2 separate regions of the Homo sapiens genome follow, and region 2 is linked to region 1. Evidence: promoter capture Hi-C in 16 types of primary human blood cells and fetal thymus (Javierre and others, 2016). All regions are on one chromosome and are shown on one strand. The core of a region is centred on a gene start or on the middle of the fragment in contact, and the rest is flanking DNA. Distances in the headings are between cores, read along the strand shown. Region 1 holds the start of IER3IP1 (immediate early response 3 interacting protein 1). Region 2 holds the start of DYM (dymeclin).

What was found. The method cuts DNA at HindIII sites, captures the fragments that hold promoters and counts their contacts. A CHiCAGO score of 5 or more calls a contact.
Region 2: the fragment with the promoter of DYM here is called in contact with the fragment with the promoter of IER3IP1 in region 1 in 2 of 17 cell types (total B cells and naive CD8 T cells); the score reaches 5.6 in total B cells.

Annotation. Positions count from the first base shown.
Region 1 is chr18:47,174,377-47,179,804 of GRCh38, reverse strand. It overlaps IER3IP1 (immediate early response 3 interacting protein 1), which reads left to right and starts at 3,441. Exons shown (of 3, transcript NM_016097.5): 1 at 3,441-3,618. The coding sequence starts at 3,528. RefSeq lists enhancers at 3,273-3,402, 3,413-3,532. The HindIII fragment of the contact is 4,620 bases long and covers 251-4,870 here.
Region 2 is chr18:49,458,190-49,463,617 of GRCh38, reverse strand. DYM (dymeclin) reads left to right here and starts at 2,973. Exons shown (of 18, transcript NM_001353214.3): 1 at 2,973-3,220. RefSeq lists a silencer at 2,995-3,574. The HindIII fragment of the contact is 8,649 bases long and covers 1-5,428 here.

The sequences.
Region 1 (5,428 bases), core at 2,192-4,691:
CCTTCCCATAGAGATTGGAAGACAGAGGCTCTTAACCTTCCTGATGATTGATTACATTTTAAAGGGATGGCTTTCAGGTCCTTGAGAAAGATGCTCCTGAGTTGTAGGAGAAACATGTACATCTCAAAGGGACAGGAGAAGGATTCACAATTGTAAGCCCTCTTGAGTAAACGCTCTAAGAAAGGAAGGTTGGGGCCTATTGTAAGGTGTTGGCTAAAACAAACAGTAAATTTTTTGGCAGCCTGAAGCTTTTTCAGGCAAGTAGCAACAGTAGCAACTGAATGCAACAGCGAGCTGTTAGAAACTATGTTAGTATTCAGCCAAACACAGCGGCTCACGCCTGTAATCCCAGCACTGTGGGAGGCTGAGGTGGATGGAATCACGAAGTCAGGAGATCAAGACCATCCTGGCTAACACGGTGAAACCCTGTCTCTACTAAAAATACAAAAAATTAGCTGGGCGTAGTGGCACGCGCTTATAGTCCCAGCTACTCAGAAGGCTGAGGCAGAAGAATCGCTTGAACCCAGGAGGCGGAGATTGCAGTGAGCTGAGATGGCACCACTGCCACTGCACTCCAGCCTGGTGACAAAGCAAGACTTTGTCTTAAAATAAATAAATACAATTAAAAAAAGAAACTATGTTAGTATTCAAGTGTTTTAGTGTTGGGTAAAGGAGATACACAATATGCATATCATTTGTGTGGAGAATCTGTAGTGTTTTTTTTTTTTTTTTTTTTTTTTTTTTGAGATGGAATCTCACTCTGTAACCCAGGCTGGAGTGCAGTGGCGTGATCTCGGCTCACTGCAAGCTCCGACTCCCGGGTTCATGCCGTTCTCCAGCCTCAGCCTCCCGGGTAGCTGGGAATATAGGTGCCCGCCACCATGCCCGGCTAATTTATTTGTATTTTTAAAAAATAGAGATGGGGTTTCATTGTGTTAGCCAGGATGGTCTAGATCTCCTGACCTTGTGATCCACCCGCCTCGGCCTTCCAAAGTGCTGGGATTACAGGTGTGAGCCACCGCGCCCAGCCTGTTTTGTTTTTTAGACAGGGTCTTGTTCTGTCACCCAAGCTGGAGTGCAATGGCTCAATCTCAGCTCACTGCAACCTCCGTTCCCTGGGTGCAAGTGATCCTCCCACCTCAGCCTCCTTAGTAGCTGGGACCACAGGTGTATACCACTAAGCTGAGGCATTTTTTTTTTTTTTTTGTATTTTTGGTAGAGACAGGGTCTTGCCATGTTCCCCAGGCTGAGAATCTGTAGTTTTTAAGTGGCCAATATTGAGGTGTTGTCAAGAAGAGGGCTCAGCCTGGCGGGATGACCCATTCCTGTAATAGAGTGTATTAGTCAGTATTCTCTAGAGGGACAGAACTAATAGGAGATATATATACAAAGAGGGAGCTTATTCGGTACTATTAACTCACACGATCACAAGATCCCACAATAAGCCGTCTGCAAGCTGAGGAAGCCAGTCTGAGTCCCAAAGCTGAAGAACTTGAAGTCCAACGTTCAAGGGTAGGAAGCATCCAGCATGGGAGAAAGATGTAGGCTGGGAGGCTAAGCCAGTCTACCCTTGTTGAGAGCAAGCCCCCAACAGTCTGGCCATAAACTAGCCCCAAAACTGGCCATAAATAAAATCTCTGCAGCACTATAACATGTCCATAATGGCCCTAACGCCCAAGCTGGAAGGTTGTGGGTTTACGGGAATGAGGGCAAGGAATACCTGGCCCACCCAGGTTGGAAAACTGCTTAAAGGCATTCTTAAGCCACAAACAAAAGCCTGAGAGATCTGTGTCTTAAGGATGTGTTCCTGCTGCAATTAATTCGGCCCATCCCTTCATTTCCCATAAGGGATACTTTTAGTTAATTTAACATCTATAGAAACAATGCTAATGACTGGTTTGCTGTTAATAAATACGTGGGTAAATCTTTGTTCGGGGATCTCAGCTCTGAAGGCTATAAGACCCCTGATTTCCCACTTCACACCTCTGTGTGTGTCTTTAATTCCTCTAGCACCGCTGGGTTAGGGTCTCCCCAACCGAGCTGGTCTTGGCATACCCTTTTCATTGGTTTTTTGCCTGCTTTATATCCTGGCCACTCCAGCAGCTGATTAGATGGTGCCCACTTGGATTAAGAGTGGACCTGTCTTTCCCAGCCCACTGACTCAAATGTTAATCTCCTTTGGCAACACCCTCACAGACACACCCAGGATCAATACTTTGCATCCTTCAATCCAATCAAGTTGACACTCAGTCTTAACCATCACATACAGCTAAGCAGGAGGCTAAGGCAGGAGGACTGCTCGAGCCAGGAGCTGAAGGCTGCATTGAGCTATGATGGTGCCACTGCACTCCAGCCTGGGCAACAGAGCAAGACCCTGTTCCTGGGGGGGGAAAAAAAAAAAGAAGAGGCTCAGAGGATCTTGGTTGGAGTTTGGTCAAGGAGGGGATGTTTCTCACTGAGTAATTTTAAAACAGTTATTTTGTTTTAGCATTCTGAAATCTGAAATGGGAATATTAGTATCTCCTGTATCTCCTGGGAGCATCAAGTGCAGTACTGAGCAATAGAAATATAATGCAAGCGTCACATGTCATTTACAGTATCTTCATAACCACATTAAATAAAATAATTAAAAATAAACAAGAAACCTTCCTCCCTTCCTTCCTTCTTTCCTCTTGCTCTGTCACCCAGGCTGGATCTCGGCTCACTGCAGTCTCTGCCTCCCGGGTTCAAGTGATTCTCTTCTCTCAGCCTCCTGAGTAGCTGGGATTACAGGAGCCCACCATCACACCCAGCTAATTTTTGTATTTTCAGTAGAGACAGGGTTTTGCCATGTTGGCCAGACTGGTCTCGAACTCTTGACCTTAGGTGATTTGCCCGCCTCGGTTTCCCAAAGTGCTAGAATTACAGGCGTGAGCCACTGCGCCCGGCCTCAAAATATTTTCATTTCAACATGTTATCAACATTTAAAAATTATTGGGAGGCCGAGGAGGGGGGAATCACGAGGTCAGGAGATTGAGACCATCCTGGCTAACACGGTGAAACCCCGTCTCTACTAAAAATACAAAAAATTAGCCGGGCGTGGTGGCGGGCACCTGTAGTCCCAGCTACTTGGGAGGCTGAGGCAGGAGAATGGCGTGAACCCGGGAGTCGGAGCTTGCAGTGAGCCGAGATCGTGCCACTGCACTCCAGTTTGGGCGACAGGGCCAGACTCCATCTCAAAAAAAAAAAAATTATTGGGATATTCTTCATCCTTGTTCCAGTTCCAAGTGTGTGAAATCCGGTGTGTATTTTGCACCTGCAGCACTGGCCACATCAGAGCATTGATTGCACATCACCGGTCTAGACAAGCGGCAGGACTTGCAGTCTTCAGCGAGGGGCGGTTCTTAGCCAGATGGAGGCGGGGCTTCCCGGAGAGTTCGTTTTGGGCCCCATCGGCTTCCGTAGGAAGGCGCCGGCCGTGGAGGCGCCACGTCCCTTGCGGCGGCGGGAGAGAAATCGCTTGGACTTCGGGGCGGCCTCGGACGGCCATGGCCTTTACCCTGTACTCACTGCTGCAGGCAGCCCTGCTCTGCGTCAACGCCATCGCAGTGCTGCACGAGGAGCGATTCCTCAAGAACAGTGAGTGGGACCGCGGGGCGCGGGCTGGGGCGGCGGCGGAGTCCCCGGGGGCGCGTAACCTAATGGGGCCGCGTGAGGGGACACCAAGGGCCGGGACAGAAGAACAGCGGAAGGCTCGGCTTGGAGTGGAAGCCGAGCCTTTCCTCTCATCAGGTTTGGGCTCAACAGCCGGGAGAATATTCAACAGACACCCGCTGTGCAGGGCCCAGGGGGTTGGGGTGGAGGGATATAGAAGTCAGTCAGGGACGCCTCTGCTTGCGATTACTTCAGGTCAGTAATTTAATTCAGTTTTCTGTGACTACTTTTTTTTTTGAGGGGGAGTCTCGCTCTTTTGCCCAGGCTGAAGTGCAGTGTCGCGGTCCTGTGACTACTTTTAATAGTCGAAAACCCGGGGTCTGAGTTTCGGGCTAAGAGTTGGGGGTGTGGGGCCGGGCGCGGTGGCTCCCGCCTGTAATCCCAGCACTTTGGCAGGCCGAGGCCGGCGGATCATGATGTCAGGAGTTTGGGACCAGCCTGGCCAACATGGTAAAACCCCGTCTCTACTAAAAATACAAAGATTAGCCGGACGTGGTGGTGGAAATACAAAAATTAGCCGGGCGGGAGGCTGAGGCAGGAGAATCACTTAAACCTGGGAGGCAGAGGTTGCAGTGAGCCGAGATTGCGCCATTGCACTCCAGCCTGGGCAATAGAGTGAGACTCCGTCTAACAAAACAAAACAAACAAAACAAAACGAGTTGGGTGTGGAGGGGAAGGAGGCGTGACCCATTTTGGAGCATCAGTAGTTCACTAACTGATGGAAGGCAATAAGTGTTCCTGGGCTTTAGGAATTACAGGAAGGGAACGTGTTGGAGTTATCAGGACATTCAGACACTCATGTTCCAAGAAAAGTTTATTCAGATAGCTTATTGGGTGCATAGAGTGTGCCAAAAACTCTGCTAGAATTTAGAAATTCAAAAATGAAAACACAAGTTATACCTTCCAGGACCTCACGTTGTGTACCAAGTATGCCCGTTTGAATCACTGAAACGTAAACCCAGGAGCAAGATTGATTCATTTCATTTACTTCAGAAGATATTTATTGAGTGCAAAGTATGTGCCAGGCCCATTTATAGTAACTGAAGTTACAGCAGCTACTCTGCCCTTCTGATGGAAGTTAATCTAAATAAAAACTAAACAAATGACAATAACAAGTATAGAGAGTATTATGTAAGAGAAGTACGGGCAGATACTAACTTGTGTATCTGCGAAAGCTTCTTGGAGGAAGCGTGTCTAACCTGAAATCTGATACATGAGTAAACATTAACTCGGTGAAGGTGAAGGGTTGGGAGGAGCTGGAAGGGTGAGGAGAGCTTTAAGCAGTGTAGACCTGGTGTGAAAACTGAGGCAGGTGAGAAGAGGGTCTTAAGACAGCGACATGACCAGATTTGTGTTATTTGCAAGATCCTTGAGGCTACAATACGGAGGAAAGATTGGAAGGGAAAGCAGTGGATGTGGGAAGACCCATTTTTTTTTTTTTTTGAGACGGAGTCTCACCCTGTCCCCCCGGCTGGAGTGCAGTGGCGCAATCTCGGTTCACTGCATCCTCCGCCTCCCAGGTTCAAGCGATTCTCCTGCCTCAGCTTCCCGAATGGCTGGGATTACAGGCACGCACCACCAAGCCTGGCTAATTTTTGTATTTGTAGTAGAAATGGGGTTTCACCATGTTGGTCAGGCTGGTCTCGAACTCCTGACCTCGTGATCTGCCCACCTCGGCCTCCCAAGGAAGAACAATTCTAAATAGGGCAAGTAGATACAAGTGGGTATGACAACA
Region 2 (5,428 bases), core at 1,724-4,223, 2.3 Mb before region 1:
GAAGTTGTCAAGTCAGCCAAAGTTATCATAATACTTTTTTTTTTTTTTTTTTTTTGAGATGCAGTCTCACTCTGTCACCCAGGCTGGAGTGCAGTGGGGCGATCTTAGCTCACTGCACCCTCTGCCTCCCAGGTTCAAGCAATTCTCCTGCCTCAGCCTCCTGAGTAGCTGGGACTGCAGGCCTGCACCACCACAACTGGCTAATTTTTTTTTTTTTTTTTTTTGGATTTTTAGTAGAGACGGGGTTTCACCATGTTGGCCAGGCTGATCTTGAACTCCGGAACTCAGGTGATCCGCCCACCTCGGCCTCCCAAAGTGCTGGGATTTACAGGCTTGAGCTACCACGCCCGGCCATCATACTTCTGCAGGCAGTTTTGAAAGTTGGTGTCCAAGGATAATAATTTGCACATTACATGTACAAAAAAGGTGCATAAGGACTGCTACTCTAACTCAACACTTCCTACGTAGTAAAAAATATTCCTAATCTTATCTTCCGATTTATGATATTTGCCTAGCAACATTATAACATTTGCCTAGGAACACAGGCAAGACTGTTTATTTCAAGTCATCCAAAAATGACCAAAGGGAGACGATGTAAAATTTCACTAATAGGATCCCCTTGAAATAAAATATTTTGCTTCTTAGGTCTATAAAGCCAGTTTTGAGGAGATGCTCACAACTGTTGCTGAGTCAGTCTGGGGAAAGTAGACTGTGTGCCAGGCAATATTAAAAAATATTTTGAGTTAGGTTTTCATGCCTGAGTCTCTTTTTTTATTTTTTATTTTTTTGAGACAGAGTCTGGCTCTGTCACCCAGGCTGGAGTACAGGGGTATGATCTCGGCTCGTGGCAACCTCCACCGTCTGGGTTCAAGTGATTCTCCTGCATCAGCCTCCTGAGTAGTTGGGGCTACAGGCGCATGCCTGGCTAATTTTGTATTTTTCGTAGAGACGGGGTTTCGCCATGATGGGCAGGCTGGTCTCAAACTGCTGACCTCAGGTGATCTGCCTGCTTCGGCCTCCCAAAGTGTTGGGATCACAGGCATGAGTCACCACGCCCAGCCCTGAGTCTCTTTTTGCTGTAATTTTAAAATAAAATTGTACATGTACTTCATATTCCTTGCAGAAAAATTAGAAAACATAGGGAAAAACTAATTTTAACCACACAGGATCTCATTACCCAAAGTTGCAATATTGTTAATATTATTTGTCTTTTTTCCAACAGCACATATACATAGGTATTATAAATATTATAGTAAACATATATTACATATGTTATATTAATATATCATTTAATATATTAATATAAATATTATATTAAGTGGCAAAACCACAATTAGTTTTGCACCAACCTAATATAATTCACTTATGAAAATTTGATACTATATATGTTTCCACTCAGTGTATCATGAAAATGTTTTCAAATAAATATGCATCCATAGCATTCTTTACAATGACTGCATAGTAGTGTCTATGGCTTTTTAGTTAGGTAGTTTGGGGTTTTTTTTTTTTTTTGAGACAGTGTCTCGTTCTGTTGCCCAGGGTAGAGTGCAATGGTGAGATTATGGCTCCCTGAAGCCTCAACCTCCCGGGCTCAAGCGATTTTCCCACATCAGCCTCCCGAGTAGCCGGGACCGAGGGTGTGCCAACCACTCCCAGCTAATTTTTGTATTTTTTGTTGAGACAGTGTATCGCTATGTTGCTCAGGCTGGTCCTTCCGAACTCCTGGGCTCAAGTGATCCTCCCACCTTAGCCTCCCAAAGTATTGGGATTACAGGCATAAGCCACAGGGCCCAGTCTACTTTGGGTTTTAATATGTTTTCCTGTCATAATTCTGCAAGCTCAGTGAATTTACTGGCAGTCTATGCTAGAAAAGAATACCTAATATTTGTATAGTACTTTACAGAGTACACTGGCACATATTGACTATATAATGGGAATAACGGTGCTATCTGTTCCATAGGGTCATTTTGCGAAATAATAGTGCATGGCAAATAGAAAATAATCCATAATGTGAATTGTTATTACTACAGTCATGTCAACATTTCCTGTAATGGCAGAATCATCATCATGCATATATTTTAGGTGAGGAAACTGGCTGAGAGAGGTGAAGTAATTGCTCAAAGACGTCAGTGTGGAAACCTCAGCTCATTTGACTTCAAATTCCATAGTTTTGGCACTATCTCATATTGCTACTCTTTCCCGTGGGACCTGTCCTTTCCGACAACTTTGCAGGCAGGGCTAGCCCTGCCAGCTGCCTCCATCAAAAATTATTTTGCTATTTCTCAATTCTCCAGAATCCCACACAATATTGCTTGACTTTGGGATGGTTATTCAGCTGCAATTAACAGAGGCCTTAATAAGGTTAAGCCGCCAGAACGAGCGGTGTAGCATGAGCGAGGACTCTAGCACCTGGCAGGTGAGGTTGACTCTAGCACCCGGCAGGTGAGGTTTTTGCGCTTCTCTCTCTCTCTCTTTTTTTTTTTTTGAGAAGAGTCGAGCTCTGTCGCAAGGCTGGAGTGCAGTGGCCCGATCTCGACTCACTGCAATCTCCGCCTCTCGGGTTCAAACGATTCTCCTGCCTCAGACAGCTACTTTTTGACTCACTGCAATCTCCGCCTCTCGGGTTCAAACGATTATCCTGTCTCAAACAGCTACTTTTTGTATTTTTAGTGGAGACGGGGTTTCACCATGCTGGCCAGGATGGTCTCGATCTCCTGACCTCGTGATCCGTCCACCTCGGCCTCCTAAAGTGCTGGGATTACAGGCGTGAGCCACCGCGCACGGCTGTTTTTGCGCTTCTCGATTTCGCCACGTGGCTTTGCGGTAGCCCAGGAGGTACTAGGAGGGCGGAGGCACGAATAACACCCAAAGGACTACAGTTTCCAGAAGCCCGCGCGCGCCGCGTGCCACGTGACCACCTGGCTGGCGCGCGCGCCTGGGGGTCTGGTCCCTAGCCGCGTTCTCGGTCGCTTCCCTCTTCTCTCGCCGCCTCCTGGCCTCCGCACCGACGCGGCCCGGGCTGGAGCCGAGCCGGGGCCGAGCTGCAGGCCGGACCGGAGCCGGATCTGTACCCGCTGAGACGTGGAAACATGGAGGCCTGAGCCGGTGTGCGCCACCTGGGCTGCGGCGGCGACAGCGACTTCTCCTGACCCCTCTGCCACCCTCCCATCCGTCCGCGGGTCCGTGGAGCTGGAGCAGATCCCCCAGCCGGCTGAGACAGGTGGGCTGTAGCGCCGCCCCCCTCAGCGCGGCCGGGCCCGAAAGCCTGGCTGTCCCCGGCCTCCTGTCAGAGGGGGTCAGGGGCCACCCTCCGCAACCCGGCCAGCGCCCCGGGGCGGCGGCGAAGGGACCCTCCCTTCCCTGCCCGCGGGCGCCTGGGCCACCCGGAGGGGCTGTGCTGACAGCGGACGGACCTCTGTCCGAGTCCGCTGTTGGGAGTTGGGGGATACCGAAGGCCAAGTCGGTGCTTCCGGAGATGGGGCGGTGTTGGTCTGACAAATGGGCGTGTGATGGGCAGGGTGAGCAATAGCTGTTGGGTTTTTCTTTCTTCTTTTTACATTCATAGTTTATCGAGGTATAACTAACATATCAGAAAATTAACCCTTTAAAAGTACAACTCAGTGGTTTTTAGTATATTCACAGGGTTGAGCAGCCATCACCACCCTTAACTCCAGAGCATTTTTAATCACCGCCCCCCCCGCCCCAAAGAAGCTCGTACCCATTAGCAGTCACTCCTCCTTCTCTCCCCTACACTATTGATCTACTTTCAGTCGCCGTGGATTTGCCTGAGCAATTGTGTTTTGACTGAAAAGTGAAAGGGTGGGTGTTTGTGAACTGGGGGCAGTAGTGGGGTTTGAGGGTATTGGTGTGGTAAAGCTGATTGGATAAAGCTGTTCTCTACTGAACAGGGGTAGAGAAGTGATGGGATGATTGTAATCGGCCAGCAAAGCGGGTACCCAGGATAGACTGATTAGGGGGCACAGATGGAGTGAGTTCCTTGAAAGAGGAGAGGGGAAGTTGGAGAGAGGGGTGTGTAGAGCAAGGGTGATGTGCTGAAGGATGAAAACCTGGAGGGTGGAGGCCGTGGAGAGGAATGTAGCGTCCACCAGAGGAACTCAGGTGCTTAGGCTGATGAGTTGAGGGCTCAAGAGAAGAACGAGGTGGAAGGGAAGAGAATCTATAGGAATGGGTGAATGGTTGTTGCAGAGGATGAAATTTATGAATATATGGATTTCTGGAGTGATTATCCTGCTTTGAAGTTTTATTTTAGATAATCCTCTCAGCAACTTGGAGATAGACCGGACAAGTATGAATATTCCCATTCTGTAAATGAAGAACTAGTCTTTTAGAGGTTAGGTGTCTGCCTTAAGCTCATAAACTGAGTACATAGGGCAAAATGAGTTGGAATAATTGATGAAACTATCAGTCGCAAGTGGATTAAATGGCAGAGAACTGAGTTGGGGCAATGTTAATAGGAAGGAGATTCAGCTATTAAGAAGTCTGTGTTGTTACGACATATAGGTCAAGGAGTTTTTATGTTTTTGCACCTTTTAACCATAGAAAAGTTCACACAGTGAAATAATAAAGGGTACTCCCATGTACCCATTACCCAGCTTCAGCAGTTAACTCATGCCAATTTAATTTCATCTATGTCCCTATGCATTCCTATCCCCACTCACAATTATTTTAAAGCAAATCATAGACATTCAATTTCATCTGTAAATATTTCAATATATATCTGTAGAAGATTGAATTGCTTTTTTTTGTTGGTGGTGGTGGGAGGCAGAGTCTCGCTCTGTCATTCAGGCTGGAGTACAGTGGCGTGATCCCGGCTCACGGCAACGTCTGCCTCCTGGGTTCAAGCAATTCTCCTGCCTCAGCCTCCTGAGTAGCTGGGATTACAGGCACGTGCTACCATGCCTGGCTAATTTTTTGTATTTTTAGTAGAGACGGGGGTCTCATCATGTTGCTCAGGCTGGTCACGAACTCCTGAGTTCAGGCATTTCACCCACCTCAGCCTCTGAAAGTGCTGGGATTACAGGGGTGAGCCACTGCACCTGGCCTGCTCTTTTTAATAGGCCCAGAATACCATTATCACACATAAAAATTAATAGTTTTTAATATCTAGAAAGATTTACTGTACTTTAAAAAAGTGTGGTAATCCATTTGATACAAAGAGGATAAACAGTGCAAACGCTTTTATGTTTGACTCTGAAAAATGTGGCATAATTATCTCCTGATTTTTCCATTAGATCCTGCCATCCTGATTGTTCCTTTTTTTTTTATTAATATGGCTCATTTTTCTACAGAAAGTTTGAAGAATTGTCACTTTGGTAGGCTTTTTAATGAATGGAGGGCAGGAGAGAAATAGAAGTGAAATATGTTACAACATGTACAAATGGCTCTTTCTTATATTGCTCCAAATATT